3 separate regions of the Homo sapiens genome follow, and regions 1 and 2 are each linked to region 3. Evidence: promoter capture Hi-C in 16 types of primary human blood cells and fetal thymus (Javierre and others, 2016). All regions are on one chromosome and are shown on one strand. Each heading gives the region's core, a stretch centred on a gene start or on the middle of the fragment in contact. The rest is flanking DNA. Distances are from core to core; before and after follow the strand shown.

What was found. Contacts are between HindIII fragments. The CHiCAGO score rates a contact against its expected background, and 5 or more counts as called.
Region 1: a fragment that was not itself captured here is called in contact with the fragment with the promoter of CHMP4C in region 3 in 5 of 17 cell types (total CD4 T cells, activated CD4 T cells, non-activated CD4 T cells and 2 more); the score reaches 7.2 in total CD4 T cells.
Region 2: a contact is called between a fragment that was not itself captured here and the fragment with the promoter of CHMP4C in region 3, in 1 of 17 cell types (activated CD4 T cells). The highest score is 7.2, in activated CD4 T cells.

What each region holds. Positions count from the first base shown.
Region 1 is chr8:80,025,895-80,028,594 of GRCh38, reverse strand. All of the region lies in intron 5 of TPD52-MRPS28 (TPD52-MRPS28 readthrough), which reads left to right. The region is part of intron 1 of MRPS28 (mitochondrial ribosomal protein S28); the gene reads left to right. Among named protein-coding and RNA genes, the nearest start is that of MRPS28, 3.0 kb to the left of the region's middle. RefSeq lists a silencer at 1,907-2,201. The HindIII fragment of the contact is 189 bases long and covers 1,178-1,366 here.
Region 2 is chr8:80,045,589-80,048,384 of GRCh38, reverse strand. All of the region lies in intron 4 of TPD52-MRPS28 (TPD52-MRPS28 readthrough), which reads left to right. All of the region lies in intron 5 of TPD52 (tumor protein D52), which reads left to right. Among named protein-coding and RNA genes, the nearest start is that of MRPS28, 17 kb to the right of the region's middle. The HindIII fragment of the contact is 929 bases long and covers 919-1,847 here.
Region 3 is chr8:81,731,182-81,733,881 of GRCh38, reverse strand. It overlaps CHMP4C (charged multivesicular body protein 4C), which reads right to left and starts at 1,434. Exons shown (of 5, transcript NM_152284.4): 1 at 1,066-1,434. The coding sequence starts at 1,255. The HindIII fragment of the contact is 11,241 bases long and covers 389-2,700 here.

The DNA of each region.
Region 1 (2,700 bases), core at 23-2,522, 1.7 Mb after region 3:
ATTTTAAGATCAGCTGATTAGCAATCTTAATTCCACCTGCAAAGTTAATTCTCCTTTGCCACGGAAGGTAACATATTCACAAATTCTAGAGATTAGGATGTGGATGTCTTTGTAGGGGGAGGGGGCATTATTCTTTCTACCATATATGGAGAAGTCATAAAATACTAGCAGAATAGCGATGATTGACCTGAAGCCACCTAAGGGATGGATTTTAGATCCATCCTTAAGGTAAGGCCATAAGAGTTAAGTGCAGTAAGGTTGGAAACATAGAGTTCAGTGCTCCCTTCCAAATATATGTATAGGAAAGGAGTTTTTCTATTTCTTACCTAATATTTCTCACTCACGCTTCGCTCCCATTCATACCACATTCTAAGCCCCTTCGGAAACCCCCCAAAATAATTCTCAATTGCTGAGTTAACTGTGGTAAGAGTGAAAATTGTAGCATCACATGTATAGTAAGTTAAGTGTTTGAAACTAAAAATGTACTGTTTATTTAATGAAGGAAACAACCAAGGTGTTTTAGAGTCCCCAGAATTCCCTTTCCTTTCCTTTTCTCTTTCCTTTCCTTTCCAAGGCAGTTCTAATTGGGCTGTTCAGTTTTTCCAGGAGGAGGCTGGGGTGTTTCCTGGCAGTCCCAGCACATCCGTTAGATTTTCTCAGTCCAGCTCAGGCTCAGCAGCATCTCTGCACCCTGCGTGGTTGTTCTCCGTCTAACACAGTTTAGAAAACATTATTCTACTAGATGATGGGTAAATGTGTTTGGTTGTGATGTACAGTTCACCAATTTCTTATTCACAAGTCTTTGACATCTTGGTTTAATGGAAATAAAATTCCCTGGGGAGGAGGATATCAGGAGGCTGTGTTGTAGTCTCCGTTCAGCAAGTTCTTAGCTTTGAAGCATTTGAAGTTTACGTGAACCCCTTTACTCCTTCTTAATTGATACCACTGACTTCAGTTGCTCCCTGGTTCAGGTCATTACACACACTGTGGATCAAGTTATCTTCCTAAAGTTGGGCTCTATAATCAGACTTAATGAGGTTATTTACTTATTGCTCTCCTTGAGAATCTTCTAAACCTCCATTCACACTGCCTGCAAGATTAAATATACAATGGTGCATCTCTCTACTGTGGCTTCAGAGGCCTACTGCCATTCAAGACCCTGCTTGGGTTAAAAGCTTCGGCTCAGTTCAGGTTTCCAGTTTCTGCCATCTTTCAACTGAGTGACTTTGGGCAACTTACTTAGCCTATCTAAGTTTGCTGTCTTATCTCAAAGTGGAGATAATGCTTCAACTGGAGTTACTGGGAAGTTTATGTGAAATAATACATTTAACGTGCTCTCAGTACATTGACTGGTACAGAGTAAGCTTTATTCAGTGCATTTTAGCTTTTATGTGGCCCCAGCCGTTTCTTCTCCAGCCTTCTGCCTTCCTGAGAATAGTTTCACAGAGATGCTTCCACAATTACACAGTTCTTTGAAGTCCCATTGTTTTCTTAATAATGAACTTTAATTTATCAAACCGTGTAGATTCATCTCTTGTAACTGATGTACCGCTCTGGTGGGGGATGTTGACAGTGGGGGAAGCTATGTGTGTGTCAGCACAGGAGGGGTATGGGATATGTCTGTACTGTACTCTCAATTTTGCTGTAAACCTAAAAGTACTCTAAAAAATAATTTTTTTTCTTAATGAATGAATATAAAATGCTATTTAAAAACATAAGGCAGTATATGCTCTAACTAGAGGTTGAGCTGTGTCATTCAAAGAGACAATAAAATTAAGTTTTTCATGGCAAAAAGCCCAAAACCAAACAAAAAACACCAGAAAACAACCATGCACATGCCATTTTTTTTAATCCCAAATGTAAGGACATTCGTCATCACTAATATGTTAACTTGTGGTGCCAGAGTAACACATGACACATCAGAATAAAATTTTTACTAACTTTTTTCCCAGTAGAAAATGTTTCAGGAGGTCAGAGACCTTGTCTTTCTTATTCTGTTGTATTTCCAGTGCCTAGCACAGTCCTTGACCCATAGTGGGCACTCGGTAAATATTTGTCAAATGTGTGAATGAATGAATAGTACATGTAGTGCATATTTGAACTTCAGTTATACCTGGCCTGTCGTTGAATTGTAATATATGTGTCACTGTCCACAAACAATTGTACAAGAATAGTACAGTCTTGAGCATGTCAGTTGAATGTGCCTGTCCAGAATAATTGAGTAAAAATAATTTTAAGAGTAGTAAGAAATTGAAAATACCACATTAGTTTTAGTTTTAGTATTTACTGGAAGTTTTCAGTGTTTTTCTAACATATTTATGGTAAGGAATATGAGGAGTTGTTGGGTATTGATAGGAATTCAACTTGTGAAAAAACTTGCTTTACCTCTTTTGAACTTACTGGACCTATTTAATTGAACAGTATCGTGAGATTACAAGATGAATAAACGCCAATTGTGTATTCAGGGTTTTTGAAAAAATATTGTTTACAAATTTTACAAAAGTAATATTTGGTTACTTTAGAAAGAAAATTTACATAGCCCTGCAGGTTATTATGTGAAATGTAAAAGTCCCTTTTTCTTACTTTCTCAAGGCTGGAGAGTGTGTTTTTTATGCATAGCTGCAGAGTTTTATATTACACACGTAAGTATAAGCTAAGTATTGCTATATATATTTAAAAACATTAATTGGTTCGTAGTAT
Region 2 (2,796 bases), core at 134-2,633, 1.7 Mb after region 3:
ATTATGGATATAGAAGGAGAAAATGCAGCAGTTTTGCCAACCTGAATGTGTTAGACTCAGCAACAGTTTTTATTTTACATAGTCAGTTGATAAATCAGCACTTGGGATTTAGATATTTGCCTTATGCCTTGATTGAGGGGAGGGAGATGTATAAGGAAATAGAGAAGAGAGAGAGAGAGCTGCTCTTGATGTCCTGAGAATGAGGTGTGGTGGTAGCAAGGCCAAGGAGGACGTGGTCATGAGTGCTGTCCTGGGAGGCCCTCTGGGGCAGCCTGCTTTTCCCTCAGGTGATATGCTTATATTTCCCCTCTGTTTGCATATGTTCTATGCCTATGTGAAAGTATTGACTCATGCCTTTAGCATTTTGAGGGAAACTTTAAAAGAACCTTCTCATTGCAGTCAGTGCCAGGGTTAAACATAAAATTTTAGTGTTATTAAAAGCATACTATAATATTCAGTAGACACATTTGTCTCATATTTTTGGTATATTTAAGAGGAAGTGCTAATTAATTTTGCCTTTATTTCCAAAGAAAATTTCTCCTTTTTAAATGTGTGTTTCTTCATGTGCCCCTGTAGATATTTATTTGGTTTGGGCTCATTAAAGTCCTGCTAGACAATTCCCTTTTGCTGAAAACTTCCACCACTTAATGGGAAAAGAAATGATCTCTTTCCTCGTGTCAGAAAAAGAATATCTTTTGATTAGAATTTGAAACACTTTAATGAACTTTTCTCTGTTTCATGCCCATATTCCCAATTTTAGTTATCAAAATTGTTTATTCATTTATTCATTCATTCTTTCACTCAAAAGTATTTATTGAGTGCTAACTATGTGCCAGGCATTGCTGTAGACTATAGGGGTGGAGCTAAAAACCAAAATAATGCTGAAATTTGAAAGCTTCAATGTGAAATTTGAAAGCTTCAACGTGATATGCTTATATTTCCCCTCCTGTTTGCATATTTTCTATGCATATGTGAAAGTATAATATACAGTAGATGCTAATTCATGTTTCAATTAAAGCATGTGTTATAATAATAATTAACATTTATAAGCCCAGCGAGACAATAGTACCTCAGAAGCAGATGCTATTGTTTTTGATATTACAGATGAGGAAACTGAGCCATAGAGAGATTAAGTGACTTCCCCAAGGTTGCACAGCAGGTATAAGTGGCTGATGGTCAGGACTGGAACCGAGCACACCTAGTCCTGGAGCCTGCACTGTCCTCCTGGGCCTCCCCAGAGCAGTGGTGGTTTAAGACAGTGCCCCTCTAGGCACTGTCCAGCACTTTGAACAATAGCTGCTGTGATCACCAACATCAAAAGATTGTGTGAGGGCAAAGTGGAATAATAGTACATCAATAGCTGTGAAAAGCATACGTGGTATATAGTAAGCAGTCCAACATGTTAGCCATTAACTTTCCCTTCTCCTCCTCCCGCTGCTGCTACTTCCTTCCTTATCCTCCCTCTACCCCCTCCTCTCTTATTATTATTGAGCATGAAAGCATCAGATAACTGTTAGAAACAAGGAATATTTTTTAAAAATCAATTCAGCTGTTTTAAAAAAATGACTTTTTCAAAGTAAGAGTAAATGCAGTGTGAGATTGAAAAGTACTTAGTGAGAATCAGATTATCCTGATTTTTTTTTTCAGTGTTTTGAGGAGCCCATGTTTGCATTCCTAGTTTGATTACAGATTAATGTATTTGGGGGTTACAAATAAGATGCAACATTTTTAACAAAATGTGCCTTATAGATGGTAACCGATTCTTACAACCTATCTATTAGAGATGATTCTGGTCCCGTAGCAACATGACTTTTTACTTTTGAAGGTTTCCATATTACATTTAAGCTTGAATGAAACTGAAAATGATGAGCAAGTTGAAGCTTTGTGTAACTTGCCATAGAGAAGCCAGAAATGAAAGAACAGCCACCCTATAGTTAGATTACAACTAGTTACCAACAAAATTGAATTTCATCTAACTATGGATTATGGGGAGGATCCAGCAACCAGATAGAATTGAAGCTGATGTGTGCTCCTTTTCTTCCTACTATAAAATAGCTACCATAAAAGCAGAGAGACCTTGACTTTGACTCTGTTAACTGATTTTATTCTGTTTAATGGGTATATTTATCTTCAAGTGTGATATAATGCATACAGAAAAGTGCTCAACACCAAATTCATTTCAGTGATTTTTTTCACAAAATAAACAGTCTAGTCACTTCCTTGCCTTTCCTTATATATTACCACTGAAACATATTTAGTAGGTACATGCTAGGTAAAGTGGTATAGAGCCCAACCGATCCACTGCTGGAGGAAGTGATATTGTACATGGGTTCTTAGGGACAGTGACTAGAATTAGCTGTGAAATTCTGAAATTTGCACTTACTTATCCACCTGTTTCCACATTTTGTTGATACTACCAAATTCAATGTGTGGGTCCCCGGGACAAGGAATTTATCACATATTTGGCCATTACCTTCTTTTTCAGCGATTTCTGCCAAAATGAATGTCCTAATGAAGAGTTTTGATTATTAGGAACAGAAAGCTATGTAACTTTTAGCTCACCTAAAAAGAAGAATGTGTTGCACAAATACAAAGTTTTTTTGTAATTCAAGGAGAGAAAAGAAAGCAAGGCCAGGCTCCACCCAAACCAGCTCCATCAACTGGGAAATTGAAGTAGCTTCTATTATTGAAACCAAGAAACCTATTCCTCTTCCATCCTGCTGGATTCCCTGCATGATCACCTCTCCTGACCTCATCTGCTCTACCTCTCTGTGTGCTTATATTCGATTCTTTCTT
Region 3 (2,700 bases), core at 185-2,684:
TCCCAAGGCTTCATTATGACTAAAGAAGCCCAACTTGAGGGTGCAAATGTTTGGGTTTGGTGGTAAGCAGAGTCCGATATTGCCACTTCCTTTTCTGGGTCTGCCATGAACCCGGTGTTACAAGAGCAAATCACTTCAACTTCTCACTGAGTTTTTATCTGTGCCACAGGTGCTGTTTAGAGGTATTCCAATAGAAGGAGCAGTATACTGAAGAAATCAGTTAACTCTGGCAAAGAACAGGTGTTCAAGGTGCAACAGGAACACCAAGAATCATTACTGACTCAAAGTCTCTTGTGTGTGCCAAAAGTCAGTGATAGGAAATTTAATAATTAATTCCTCTACCTTTTTTTTTTTTAAGACTTCAACTGCCGAACATCCAGCTAAAGCTTTCCACAGCTGAGGAGCAAGGTAGACCACAACGTACTAGAATATCCTTTTCTGAAGATTTACGTGCAAGTTAAAATGTGTAATTTAATATACAAACATACAGCAGAAAACTTCATGGTTAGTGTTGGAGTCAGCAAGGCTGGCCTAGAAAAAGCTGGACCAGGAGCAAAATTTACAGGGGTGCGAAAACACTCAGTAATCAAGACAAATAATATTTTAATGCAATATTTTTAAAATTCAAAATTAATATTAAAAAATCCACGATGAACAAATCATCACATTATAAAAAATAATTTTAAATAAAGATGTGCTGCACATAACAACATAAGAGCTAGAGGCAAATGAAAAAAATCAATACCAATCTTGTCTTTATTTAAAATTTTGATATTTTCTTCATCATTTCTTTTTTGGCATTGGTTCTGAGTCCTTTAGGTATTGCATTAAAGTATTGTTCATCTTGATTACTGAGATTTTTGGCGGCCCCTTACATTTTGCCATCAGTGCCAGTGTCTAGCTCAACTCACCCTAGTCAGTGCCCTAAGAGTCAGTACCAGTTCCTAGAAAAGACTGCAGGAGCAAACCTGGCCACCTGGGGACCTCAGTGGTGTGGGCCGATTGTCCCCAAGGGAAAGGCTAGAGGCAGATGGGCTCCCGCCTGTGGGCCAGACCCCAGCCTACCTCGCTTATTCTGCGTGCCGTGCTTCTTGGCCAGGGCGATTTCTCTCTGGATTCGATTTTCCAGGTACTCTTGTTTCTTGCCCAGCATCTCCTCAGTCTCCCGAAGTCGGACCAGGGCCTCCTGGGGACTGGGAGCGGCTCGGCTCTTAGAAGAGCCGCCCCCTTTAAAGAACTTGCCCAACTTGCTCATTGCTGTGGAGTTCGGAGGGCCAGCGATCCCGGGGGCCTCTCGGGAGCTCCCCGGGGCCGCGCCGAGGGGACAGGTGAGCAAGGCAGTCCTCTCGGGGACCCAGACCGGAAAGGCGGCCCTCCTGGGAATCAACAAGTCGTCCTGGACAGGTGACACACACTCCAGGGCATTTCCTGGCTGCCAGTTCGGCCCCGCCCCGCTGCACAGCGGCTGGGCGGGGAGGCCACCGCTGGGACGTCGGCTGGCCGGCGCCACCCGGCCCTCTGGGAGTTGAGCGAGAGCAGAGAAAAGTTGAAAAGACCGACAAAGACTGTGGGAAGTTGGCTTTTATCCACACTAGGGACGGTCCCAGGAACGAGGAACTAGTTTGTGAATGGCTCAAAGAAAAGCAAACCGATGTCCAGGGGTCTTGTGCAGGACCTGAAAGTGTAAGTGCGCAAGACTGGATATGCAAAATGCTTTATTCCATGCGTGTCTTTTGTGTGTACGTGAGCATAGTGTTCCTGTATTCAGGCCTCTGTTCTTGTGAATAAGAATATTCAGATCTTTTCCTCTAAGTGTATGTCATGTAGGTATGAGTGTGTGGACACAAAGGCTTCCAGGATATTTGTCTGCCACTAGGATGCAGGTGTGTGGGCAAGCTCGGAGCAGCTGCTGCTACTGGGCTTGTTTCTGCATTTGGTAGTCCGGGCAGGTTGATGTGTGCCTGGATGCTAGTTGGCACAGTGTAGATTCTAGATCATCCTTACAGGACTTGAAGTGGGTGAAAGATGGTGGCCATCTCTTTTCCTAATGTCAGGACTTCTGGAGTGTGTTGGTGGTTGGATTCAACTCTATAACTAGGAATCCGAAGTTTTCTGAATGATCCTCAGTGTATCAAAAACCTTAAATGGGGCTGCCCTGGTGTTTGGCTGTATGTCAAATGCTATTACATAGATACTTAAGTAACAAAAAGTAGAGAATATCCTGGAGAAGAGAAACATTCTTTTGTTCATGCTCACTATCTCAGCCCATCTATTAGATCTGCTGGCAAATAATTTAGTAAGATGAAAGGACAGCCATATGTAATGCTTATAGATGATGCAATACTGCTGCAAACCTGTGTCAAGCACACTACAAAGAAGTGGAATTATCTGTGTTTTACTCTTCAACGATTGCCATGTGCTCTGCATAATATAGCCGTATTTGAGCAACGTTACCCAACATTACCAAAACCTATTTTTGATTGTTAGCCAGCCACTGTTTAAGAGAAAAAAAAAAAAAAAAAACACCCATTACTCTGACAAATTCACCTTGATACCCAAGATCAATAACACAATTTTGTCTGCAAGCATACAAACACAAAGCAGCAAGTTAATCTATTTATCCAACATTGGCATAGATAGCATAAAATTTTGCCAAAGAAATTGAACACTTCCATAGGAGGCTTACAGTAAGCATCTTCT